Linked DNA regions of Homo sapiens: region 2 is linked to region 1. Evidence: promoter capture Hi-C in 16 types of primary human blood cells and fetal thymus (Javierre and others, 2016). All regions are on one chromosome and are shown on one strand. Each heading gives the region's core, a stretch centred on a gene start or on the middle of the fragment in contact. The rest is flanking DNA. Distances are from core to core; before and after follow the strand shown. Region 1 holds the start of TMEM222 (transmembrane protein 222). Region 2 has its middle 70 kb from the start of TENT5B.

What was found. The method cuts DNA at HindIII sites, captures the fragments that hold promoters and counts their contacts. A CHiCAGO score of 5 or more calls a contact.
Region 2: a fragment that was not itself captured here is called in contact with the fragment with the promoter of TMEM222 in region 1 in 1 of 17 cell types (endothelial precursors); the score reaches 6.4 in endothelial precursors.

What each region holds. Positions count from the first base shown.
Region 1 is chr1:27,320,645-27,326,597 of GRCh38, forward strand. TMEM222 (transmembrane protein 222) reads left to right here and starts at 1,519. Exons shown (of 6, transcript NM_032125.3): 1 at 1,519-1,747. The coding sequence starts at 1,554. It also overlaps the pseudogene ACTG1P20 and the pseudogene RNU6-48P. RefSeq lists enhancers at 933-1,479, 1,480-2,027, 1,527-1,876, 2,028-2,574. The HindIII fragment of the contact is 7,674 bases long and covers 1-4,097 here.
Region 2 is chr1:27,080,132-27,086,137 of GRCh38, forward strand. No RefSeq gene overlaps it. Among named protein-coding and RNA genes, the nearest start is that of TENT5B, 70 kb to the left of the region's middle. The HindIII fragment of the contact is 3,206 bases long and covers 499-3,704 here.

The DNA.
Region 1 (5,953 bases), core at 269-2,768:
CTAGTGGGCATATGCTTTGCACCAGGAACTGTGCCAGCTACTGAAGTCAAGGACCTTAGAGTTCTATAGCAGAGACAGACATCCCCCACAAAAAAACATGAAAATATTAGGTGCTACAAACAGGACAGCAAGCTCTCCATAGATCAGCATTGAGGGAGGGTAATTCAGTGGAAGAAGGACCTTCCCCAAATGGGAAGCTCCTAACTTCCTGAGTGCATTTGTCCATACCTTCCTTTACCTGATTACTCTTTTTATTCTTTTTTTTTTTTCTTTAAGGCTGATTTTTAGTGGCAGCCTTCCTTCTGACTTTGGGCTGTCCCCAACTTCCCCTCCCCACCCCAGTAGACCCCAGTAGACTTCATTTTCTTTGTCTTGACATCCTTTAAAAAGCCAAAAGTCTCCAACATTTGAGCCTGGCTTCTCTCTAATTATGGTTGTGTGTGATCTCAAACAATTAACTTCCCTGAGCCCGTTTTCCCATTTGTACAATGAAGGGATTGGATCACATCTAAGGCTTATGATTTACTCCAGTAAGTATTCACACTCTTGCACACACTGCTCTGCACGGCCTTCCTTTCTTTGTACCGCTGCACTCATACTTCCACTCCTGTGCCACATGGCAAACATCAAGACTCAACTCAATAATATCCTATCTTCCAGCAAGTCTTCCCTGTATATACAATAAAACACACACACACACACACGTGCGCACACACAACTGTGTGTGTCTTCCTTTATGCTACCACTACCTCGTGAGAGGGCCACAGAATGAAAAGGGCAAGGGAGGTATAAGACTTGGGTTTGGGCCAGGCGCGGTGGCTCACGCCTGTAATCCCAGCACTTTGGGAGGCCAAGGCGGGCGGATCACAGGGTCAGGAGTTTGAGACCATCCTGGCTAACATGGTGAAACGCCACCTCTACTAAAAATACAAAAATTAGCCGGGCGTGGTGGCACGCGCCTGTTATCCCAGCTACTCGGGAGGCCGAGGCAGGATCGCCTGAACCTGGGAGGTGGAGGTTGCAGTGAGCCGAGATTGTGCCATTGCCCTCCAGCCTGGGCAACAAGAGAAAAAATTCCGCCTCAGAAAAAAAAAAAAAAAAAAAGACTTGGGTTTGCATCGTGGTCTCTCACCTTTTGAACCTCAGTTTCTCACCTGTAACAGGAGGGAATACCTAATTTGGATGTCTAATTAGTTTATGGGGATTAGAAACAATTCATGTCAAGTGCTTGGCACCTAAGAAGTGCTCAATAAATAGCGACTGTACCACACCTCCTAGGAGCCCTCAGCGTACTGAATTAGAGTTCTCTATAAGTCTCCGGCGCTAGACTGCGAACTGCCTGAGAGCATCCCTTCTGCAGCCGCGGGGCATAAGCGGCAAAGACTCGGGGCTGGCAGGCGCATAGGGAGTGGGGCGGGGCTGGCCGGGCCCAGAGGAACGCGGCTCGGATTCCCGGGGGAAGGCCAAGCGGGGCGGACCCCATCTCCGGGAAGTGACGCCATGGGGACGAGCGGCACCAGAGCCGGGGCCAGTCGGAGCGGGGCGCGCGCCGCATGGCGGAAGCGGAAGGGAGTTCTCTGCTCTTGTTGCCGCCGCCGCCACCCCCGCCCAGGATGGCGGAAGTGGAGGCGCCGACGGCGGCCGAGACGGACATGAAGCAATATCAAGGCTCCGGCGGCGTCGCCATGGATGTGGAACGGAGTCGCTTCCCCTACTGCGTGGTGTGGACGCCCATCCCGGTGCTCACGTGAGTCTCTTCCGGCATCCGCCTGGGGACGAGGAGGGCCCAGGGAGAGCCGGAGTCGGGCCGGGCTAGCCTCCGGCCCCAACGCGCAGCAAGCCTTTTCCTCGGGTCTGGCCCGCACGCCTCGCCCAGTCACCAGAACCCCGCCATCCATGTAGTGCCAGTTTGTGCACACGGCTGGGACACGCTCCCTGCTCTCAATACACCTGGTGTAGCCAGGGAGAGAGTTGTAGGCCAGCAGGAAAGGGCAAGTGGCTGGGAGACTCGAGCTGTGAGTGTGTAGAAGAGGGAGCCCCTTATCGGATCTGAGGAGACATTTTTATTAATTCACTGGTTTATTCTCTCATTGAGCAAATGCTTACTGGTCGCTTACCATATTCCAGACATACTGCTGGGTCTGGGAGCAAGAGTGGGAGTTTGGTTGGGACCACACGAGATCCTGGGATGTCAACATTGGAAGGGCCCCCAGAGATCTGAGAGTCCAACCCTTTGTCTCACGTGCCATCTCAGTTGCAAACTGGGTTTAGATCCCAGGTTGTCTGCCTCCCAGACCAAAGTTCTTTCTGTAACATCAGCCTTTGTCAGGGGAGAAGCAGGTGCTCTGGTACTACTTGGCGCCTTTTGGGAGGAGCTCTCATATGGGGAGAGGTGGTTTGCCCTCCTGCTTCAACCTTGACAGCTGATAAACGTAACCCCTCCTCACCGTGCTGGATAGTTTGCCAAGCTCTTAAACACCCATTTTATCAGAATTAAACATCCATTTTCTAAGGTAGGTTATCTTCTCAGATGGTGAAGCTGAGCTGCTTGTAGCATTAAGTGTCTTGATCAGGTTCGCACCCCAATAAGCAAAGGCATGAAGAGCTCAGTCTTCTGATCTAACTTGCTCTTTGCACTACATCTTATCCACTCTCACCTGATGGGATAGCTTGTTCCGCTATCAATAACAGCCAGTGGTGATGTGGAGAAGGGATCATTTGGGGCCTTAGGTGTTGCTGATTCTAAAAAGATCGTAGTTTTTGAATTATGTTAAAATACTTGAATTATTTTGTGTTTTCAAGTACTTATGCATATAAGAGCATCCAAATCTGTTCTTTAAAAATAAAATATTGGGACAGGCGCGGTGGCTCATGCCTGTAATCCCAGCACTCTGGGAGGCAGTGGAGGGTGGATCGGTAGGTAGTTCGAGACCAACCTGGCCATCGTGGCGAAACCCGTCTCTACTAAAAATACAAAAATTAGCTGGGCATAGTGGCACGTGCCTGTAATCCCAGCTACTCTGGAAGCTGAGGCAGGAGAATCGCCTCAACCCGGGAAGTGGAGTTTGCAGTGAGCCGAGATTGCACCACTGCACTTCAGCATGGGCAACACAGTGAAACTCCGTCTCAAAATAAATAGTGAAATAAAATCTTAGGAAAATGTGCACATTAATTCATTCAGTGTTCTTCTAACACATGTGCTAAGTGACCCCTGTGTTCCCAGATAGTTCTAGGTGATGCGAATATACAGTGATGAATAAAGGAGATATGGTCTTTAGACTTTTGAGAGTTTAAGTCATAGTGGAAGGAGATAGACAGTAAACAAGTAAGCTAATAAAAGAGCACCTGATAGTGATGAGTGCTGTGAAGAAAATAAAATATTAGTGTGAAAATAACAGGGGCCGGGCGTGGTGGCTCAGGCCTGTAATCCCAGCACTTTGGGAGGCCCAGGCGGGCGAATCACCTGAGGTCAGGAGTTCAAGACAAGCCTGACCAACATGGAGAAACCCCATCTCTACTAAAAATACAAAATTAGCCGGGGTGGTGGCACATGCCTGTAATCCCAGCTACTCAGGAGGCCGAGGCAGGAGAATCACTTGAACCCGGGAGGTGGAGGTTGCGGTGAGCCAAGATCGTGCTTTTGCACTCCAGCCTGGACAACAAGAGCAAAACTCCGTTTCAAAAAAAAAGAAAATAACTGGGAGGGATACTCAGGAAATGTATTGGTTTTCTTAAAACCTGTCTTGTGATCCTAAACTCTCTTTAGCCTTTCTTATTCTCAAAAACACCATCTGTGGCGTGGTCCTCTGCGGAGAATGGTAGCAGCGTGAGGTGGAGGCACCACAATCCCTTGTCACCTGGGCCAAAAGCAGCTCATAGCCCATTTCTATTCAGATCTGTGTACAGGTGTTCATAAGACCAAGATGAATAAGACACTGTGTTCCTGTCAAAGGGTTCATGTTCCCTTCTGTGTTAGTCCATTCTTGCACTAATACTTGAGACTGGATAATTTCTAAAGAAAAGAGGTTTAATTGACCCATGCTTCTGCAGGCTATACAGGAAGCATAGTGGCTTCTGCTTCTGGGGAGACCTCAGGAAGCTTCCAGTTATGGTGTAAGGCAAAGGGGGAGGGAGGCATCTCACATGGCGGGATTAGGAGCAAGAGGGAGTGAGGGGGGAGATGCTACACACTTTTAAACAACCAGATCTTGGGAAAACTCACTATCACGAGAACAGCACCAAAGGGATGGTGCTGAACCATTTATGAGAAAACCAGCCTCATGATCCCACCACCAGCCCCCACCTCCAATATGGGGACTACAGTTTGACAGGAGATTTGGCGGGGACAGATCCAAACCATGTCACCTTCAAAGGACTCACCTCCAGCAGGAGGGAGAGAAAGGTCAATTAGCCATCGTAGTATTACTGTATAGTGATGATTGCAGAGCTAGGCATAGATGTGGCGCAAGTAACTGTCACCTGTCTTTGGAGGAGAGATCAGAGGAGGAAATGGAACCCAAAGATCTGTCTACCCCCTCAGAGATGTTGGTAATTCTGCATGAAAAACCAGTTTAGTGCTCGCCTCAGCAGCACATATACTAAAATTGGAACGATACAGAGAAGATTAGCATGGCCCCTGCGCAAGGATGACATGCAGATTCGTGAAGCGTTCCATATTTTTGTCTCCCTGGACTTCGAGCAGGAGATGGCCACTACCACATCCTCCTCCCTGGAGAAGAGCTACAAGCTGCCGGATGGCCAGGTCATCACCATCAGCAACAAGCGGTTCCAGTGTCCGGAGGCGCTGTTCCAGCCTTCCTTCCTGGGTATGGAATCTTGCGGCATCCACGAGACCACGTTCAACTCCATCATGAAGTGTGACGTAGACATCCGCAAAGACCTGTACACCAACATAGGGCTATCCAGAGGCACCACCATGTACCCGGGCATCACCGACAGGATGCAGAAGGAGATTAACGCCCTGGCATCCAGCACCATGAAGATCAAGCTCATTGTGCCCCCAGAGTGCAAGTACTCTGTGTGGATCAGCGGCTCCATCCTGGCCTCACTGTCCACCTTCCAGCAGATGTGGATTAGCAAGCAGGAGTATGACGAGTCAGGCCCCTGTATCGTCCACCGCAAATGCTTCTAAATGGACTGCGAGCCGATGCGTAGCATTTGCTGCATGGGTTAATTCAGAAGTATAAATTGGCCCTGGCAAATGCATATACCTCATGCTAGCCTCACGAAAATGGAATAAGCCTTCGAAAAGAAATTGTCGTTGAAGCTTGTATCTAATATCAGCACTGGATTGTAGAACTTGTTGCTGATTTTGACCTTGTATTCAAGTTAACTGTTCCCCTTGGTATTTGTTTAATACCCTGTACATATCTTTGCTTTCAACCCTTAGTACATGTGGCTTGGTCACTGCGTGGCAAGGTAAGAATGTGCTTGTGGAAGACAAGTGCGACTTGGTGAGTCTGCATGGCCAGCAGTCTCCGATCTTTGCAGGGTATTAATATGTCATGGCTGAGTGTTCTGGGATTTCTCTAGAGGCTGACAAGGGCTCCTGAACCAGTTGTTTCTGTCCTGCTGGTCTGTCAGGGTTGGAAAGGCCAAGCCATAGGACCCAGTTTCCTTTCTTAGCTGATGTTTTCCTGCCAGAACACTGTGGGCTGTGACTTGCTTTGAGTTGGAAGCAGTTTGCATTTACACCTGTAAATGTATTCATCCTTTTAATTTATGTAAGGTTTTTTTTTGTATGCAATTCTCGATTCTTTAAGGAGATGAGAACAGATTTTGGTTTTCTACTGTTATGTGAGAACATTAGGCCCCAGCGGCATGTCATTGTGTAAGGAAAAATAAAAGTGCTGCTGTAACCAAAAAAAAGGGAAAAAAAAGAAACTAGTTTAATAGCTGCTGCTACTAATAAAAACAGCTAAGATTAGATGCT
Region 2 (6,006 bases), core at 852-3,351, 240 kb before region 1:
GCTGAGTTTGTGGTAATTTGTTACACAGCAATAGCTAACTAGTGCAACTAGTTATAGAACTATTCAGGTATTTTATTTCTGTTTGATTCAGTTTTGGAGAGTAATAGTTTTCCAGAAATTTGTTCATTTTGCCTATTTTTTTTTTTTTTTTGAGATGGAGTTTTGCTCTGTTGCCCAGGCTGGAGTGCAGTGGTACAATCTTGGCTCACTGCAACCTCCACCTCCCTGGTTCAAGTGATTCTCCTGCCTCAGCCTCCCCAATAGGTGGAATTACAGGTGCCCACCACCATGCCTGGCTAATTTTTGTATTTTTAGTAGAGACAGTGTTTCACCATGTTGGCCAGGCTGGTCTCAAGCTCCTGACCTCAAGTGATCCACCCGCCTCAGCCTCCCAAAGTGCTGAGATTACAGGCGTGAGCCACTGCATCTGGCCCATTTTGCCTAAATCTTTAAATATATTAGCATAAAGCTATTCATAATAACTTCTTTCTGTTTAAAAGCTTAACTATAAAATATAGCTCACAAACAGAAAGGTACATAAATTAGAAGTGCATAATGTGTAATTATAAAATAAACATCTGTGTATTCACCACCCGACTCAAGAAACGGAAATAATTCCAGCACCACAGGAATCCCCACGTGCCCCTTCTCAATCACATCCCTCCTTTCCTCTTAAGGGTAATCATCCTTGTATTTTTATGATAATCTCTGTCTGCCAGTATAGTTTTATGGTTCTTTCTAGTTTATCCATCCCTATACAATATAATTTAGATTTTTCTCTTCTTGAACTTTATGTAAATGGAATCATTCCCTGTAGATCTCTTGTGTTTGCTTCTTTTGTTCACCATTGGATTTACACCATCAATATATGTTATTGTGAAGTTCTAGTTTGTTTGTTTTCATTGCTGTTTAATATTCCATAGTATGATTATAAAAATTATCCACTTTACTGTATATATATATATATATATATTTTTTTTTTTTTTTTTTTTTTTTTTTTTGTGGAGATGGAGTCTCACTCTGTTGCCCAGGCTGGATGTGATCTTGGCTCATTGCAGCCTCAACCTCCAGGGCTCAAGTGATCCTCTTGACTTAGCCTCCCGAGTAGCCGGGACTACAGGCATGTGCCACTATGCCTGGCTAATTTTTGTATTTTTTGTAGAAACAGAGGTCTTGCCATATTGCCCAGGCTGGTCTCGAACTCCTAGGCTCAAGTGATCTGCTCACCTTGGCCTCCCAAAGTGCAGGGACCACTTTACTATTGACAGGCATTTGAATTATTTCACTTTGAGTGTACATAAACAATTCTACTCTGAACATTTGTGGACATGTTTTCTGGTACATAGTGCATACACTTCTTAGGGGATTTTTCCTGTCCTGTTTCTGAGTCTTAGGGCCTGAGTATTTATACTACTTTACTGGAAAATGCCAAACTCTCCCGGGAGGTCGTTATACTGATATACGCCAGCAGCATATGAGAGGCCGTGCTGCACCACGTCCTCGCCACTATTTGACATTGCCAGGCTTTTGAATTTTCCTAACTGGCACATGTATCATGGTATTTCATTACAGTTTTTGCATTTCCCTGCTTATTTATGGAGTGAAGCACTTTTCCATATATTTATTAGCCATTTGAATTTTCTTTTTCTGTCACATGCCTATTATATGTATTTATTTTTCTTCTCTTTTTTTTTTAAATTGAGACAGAATCTTGCTCTGTCGCCCAGGTTGGAGTGCAGTGGCATGATCTCAGCTCACTGCAGCCTTGACCTCCCAGACTCAAGCCATCCTCCCACCTCAGCCTCCTGAATAGCTTGAACTATAGGCTTATGCCATCACACCTGGCTAATCTTTGTGTATTTTGTAGAGATGGGGGTCTCACCATTTTGCCCAGGCTGGTTTTGAACTCCCGGGTTCAAGTGATCTGTAGGCCTCAGCCTCCCAAACTGTTGGGAATTACAGGTGTGCCAATTTGTCTATTTTTCTATCAGTGGATTTGTCTTTTTCTCTTTTTTTTGAGATGGAGTCTTGCTCTGTCGCCAGGCTGGAGTGCAGTGCTGTGATCTCGGCTCACTGCAACCTCCGACTCCCTGGTTCAAGTGATTCTCCTGCCTCAGCCTCCTGAGTAGCTGGGATTACAGCCTATGCGCCACCACGCCCAGCTAGTTTTCATATTTTTAGTAGAGATGAAGTTTCACCATGTTGGCCAGGCTGGTCTCGATCTCCTGACCTCGTGATCTGCCTGCCTCAGCCTCCCAAAGTGCTGGGATTTATAGGCCTGAGCCACCGCGCCCAGTTGGATTTGTCTTTTTCTTATTGATTTGTAGGAGTACTTTATATATTCTGGATAGAACTTCTTTATTAGTTTTATGAGTTCAAGTATTATTCCATGTTATGCCTCATTTTTTCATTCTCTTTATGGGGTCTCTGAATTTTAACATACTTAAAAATATCTGCCTTTTATGGTCTCTCATGGTACCTTATTCCCTTGTTTGCGTGGTTAACAGTTCACTTTTCTTTTTTTTGAGACGGAGTCTTGCTCTGTCTCCCAGGCTGGAGTACAGTGGCTTGATCCTGGCTCACTGCAGCCTCTGCCCCCCAGGTTCAAGCGATTCTCCTGCCTCAGCTTCCTGAGTAGCTGGGACTCCAGGCTCCCGCCACCACGCCCAGCTAGTTTTTGTATTTTTAGTAGAGACGGGGTTTCACCATCTTGGCCAGGCTGCTCTTGAACTCCTGACCCTGTGATCCACTCGCCTCAGCCTCCCAGAGTGCTAGGATTACAGGCGTGAGCCACTGCACCCAGCCGACCCTGTCTCTCTCTTTTTTTTTTTTTTTTTGAGACGGAGTTTTGCTCTTTTTGCCCAGGCTGCAGTGCAATGGCGCGATCTTGGCTCACCGCAACCTCCGCCTCCCAGGATCAAGCGATTCTCCTGCCTCAGCCTCCCGAGTAGCTGCGATTACAGGCATGTGCCACCATGCCCGGCTAATTTTGTATTTTTAGTAGAGACGGAGTTTCTCCATGTTGGTCAGGCTGGTCTTGAACTCCTGACTTCAGGTGATCCACCAGCCTTGGCCTCCCAAAGTGCTGGGATTACAGGCGTGAGCCACCAGGCCCAGCCCCGACCCTGTCTCTTAAAAGCCCAGTTTGCATTTTTAAAACACATAATTTATTGAAATCTTGAGGCTGAGGATGATGGTGCATTCCTTCAGAGAACATTTGCATTTGCTTCTATCAGGTACTAGGGGCATTACAAGCCCGAGGTCATTTTCAACTGAATTCACAGTTTGAAGATGTGTAGAGCATGGGAGGTGATGTGAGTTTCTTGTGCGATTCTGCATAAGGGGTAGTGTCAGGATGCAACTTCTCAGATATCTGATTGTCTTCTTCCTGCTCTTTGTGGCACCAGGGCATATTTCCTTGCAGGCCCCTGGGGGTGGGGGATTGGTTTCTTCTGGTTCACCCTTACTCTGAGAGTATGACACTTTGGGGTCTCATATCAGATTCTCCTTCTTGGTTAAGTTCTGGACTTTGTGAGACCACCCAACCTGAAGCCCCTGTATACCTGGCTAGCAAATGATCTCAGGAAAAAACAGGCTTACCTCTCATTTCACTTACGTTTGACTGGTGATTTCATTATTAGCTGGTCATTGATTTTCAGGAAGATGTTTTTAGGAAGATGTTTACCAGAAACTGTACTCCCTAAAGCTTATGTACTGAGATGTCAATTGGCAAACTAGTTATAATAGGTAAAATGTTATAATAGGCAAATGTGTTCAAAACAGGGGAATTATTAAATAAATTTACAAGATAACATATTGCAATTATCATGCTCATTTGCTAAAATACCCTTTATGGCAAAGACTGCTTGGTGTCCACCAAAATCTATTCTCTCTTTCTTTTGTATAAACAGTAGAGTTACTTAGCTGCCCACCTAGAGACTACAGTTCCCAGCCTCCCTGCAGCTGGGTGGGGCTATGTCATAAGTTATTGGCAATGGATGTGAGCAGAATTGATGTGTGTCACCTCCAACTACAGGCTTTAGAATTTAGGTGCCTTCTCCTTCATGCTCATTTCCTTCCCGTGGTTTAAACACGGACCATGGTTTGACCATGAAAATTAGGAGGACACCTTAGGGGATGTCAGAGGAGCAATGAGATGGAAGGAACCTGGCATTGAATGACAGCAGGGCACACAGTGGCCCCAACAACCTGGACCACTTATCTCAGGATCGTTACATGAGAAAAAAACACTTATGTGAAGCTGCTGTATTTGGGGACAGCTTTGTGACAGCACCTTAGCCTCATCCCCAACTAACAGAGACCCATTTAATAATGCTCCCGTCCAGGGATATGTCCAGTACATTAATCCTAGTTCTCAACTTCCTCCAGTCTTAACCTCTCTTTGGGTCTCTTCTAGGGTCTATGGTTTATCATTATCACTATCTCTTTGCCAATACCTGGAACTCCATAACCCCTCTTTGACTTCATCTTATTTGCCTGGCAAAACCCATCTGTCTTGGTGCCTGCACTCAAGTATCTGAAGATCACTGACAAATTCGTACAGCTGAGCTGAGCAGTGCCACTGTTCTCAAACATCAAAGGGACTCGACACGGAAAACTCTACTGTTTTTCTAACACGAACAGTTTCTTTCTTCTCCTCTTTCTCAAGGTAACTATTTCACTTCTTTTCCTCTTTCTTCAAATTTCCTATTTCCCTTTCTAGATTCATTCTCATTTGATTTGGTAACCTTGCCTGACTATTTATTGAGAGAATTAATGCCTTCAGTCACACAGACACCTTTTCATCTTTCCTCCACAAAATCTGCAAACCCATCTGCTTCTTCCTACTTTGGAGATGTTGTCCCTACTTCTCTCAAGGGTGTCTTTTTTTTCTCTCTCTTCTTTCTTCTTTTCTTCTTCTCCTCCTTCTTCTTCCCCTTCTTCTCTTTCTTCTCCTTCTTTTCCTCCTTCTCCTTCTTTTTAAGACAGGGTCTCGCTCTGTCACCAAGACTGGAGTGCAGTGGTGCAATCATGCCTCAATCTCCTGGGCGAAGCGACCCTCCCACCTCAGCCTCCTGACTAGCTGGGGCCACAGGCATGGGCCACCACCCATGCCTGGCTATGTTTTTTTGTCTTTTGTTTTTTGTAGAGACACAGTGTCTCTATGTTGCCCAGGCTTGTCTTGAACTCCTGGACTCAAGAGCTCCTCCTGCTTCAGCCTCCCAAAGTGCTGGGATTACAGATGTGAGCCACTGTGCCTGGCCTCAGAATGTCTTGATTCTGAATCTCTACCTCTTTTACTTTATCAAAGTGTTTCCTTCTCTACTGGGTCATTTCCCACCACTTTAAAAACATTTCTAATATCCACTCTCCACCCCCAACACACACACAAACAAAACAAAAGTAAACTAATGGCTGTATTAGTTTTCTATTGCTGTGTAATACATTACCACAAACTTAGTGGCTTAAAAGAACACACATTTGCCAGGCGTGGTGGCTCATGCCTGTAATCTCAGTACTTTGGGAGGCTGAGGTGGGTAGATCACCTGAGGTCAGGAGTTTGAGACCACCCTGGTCAACATGGCGAAACCGTCTCTACTAAAAATACAAAAATTAGCCAGGTGTGGTGGCGCGCACCTGTAATCCCAGCTACTTGGGAGGCTGAGGCAGGAGAATCTCTTGAACCCAGGAGGTGGAAGTTGCAGTAAGCCGAGATTGTGCCATTGCACTCCAGCCTGGGTGACAGAACGAGACTCCGTCAAAAACAAACAAACAAACAAACAAACAAACAAAAAACACATTTATTGTGTCACAGTTTCTGTGGGTCAGAAGCCCAGCATGTTTTGAGTCCTCTGCTTAGCATCTTACCAGGCTGAAATCAAGGAACTAGCCCAGACTGTGACCCCAGCTGGGGCTCAGGGTCATCTTCCAAGCTTATTGGTTGTTGCAGAATTCAGTTTCCTGCAATTGGAGGACTGAGGTTTCTACTTTCTTGCTGGCTGCCAA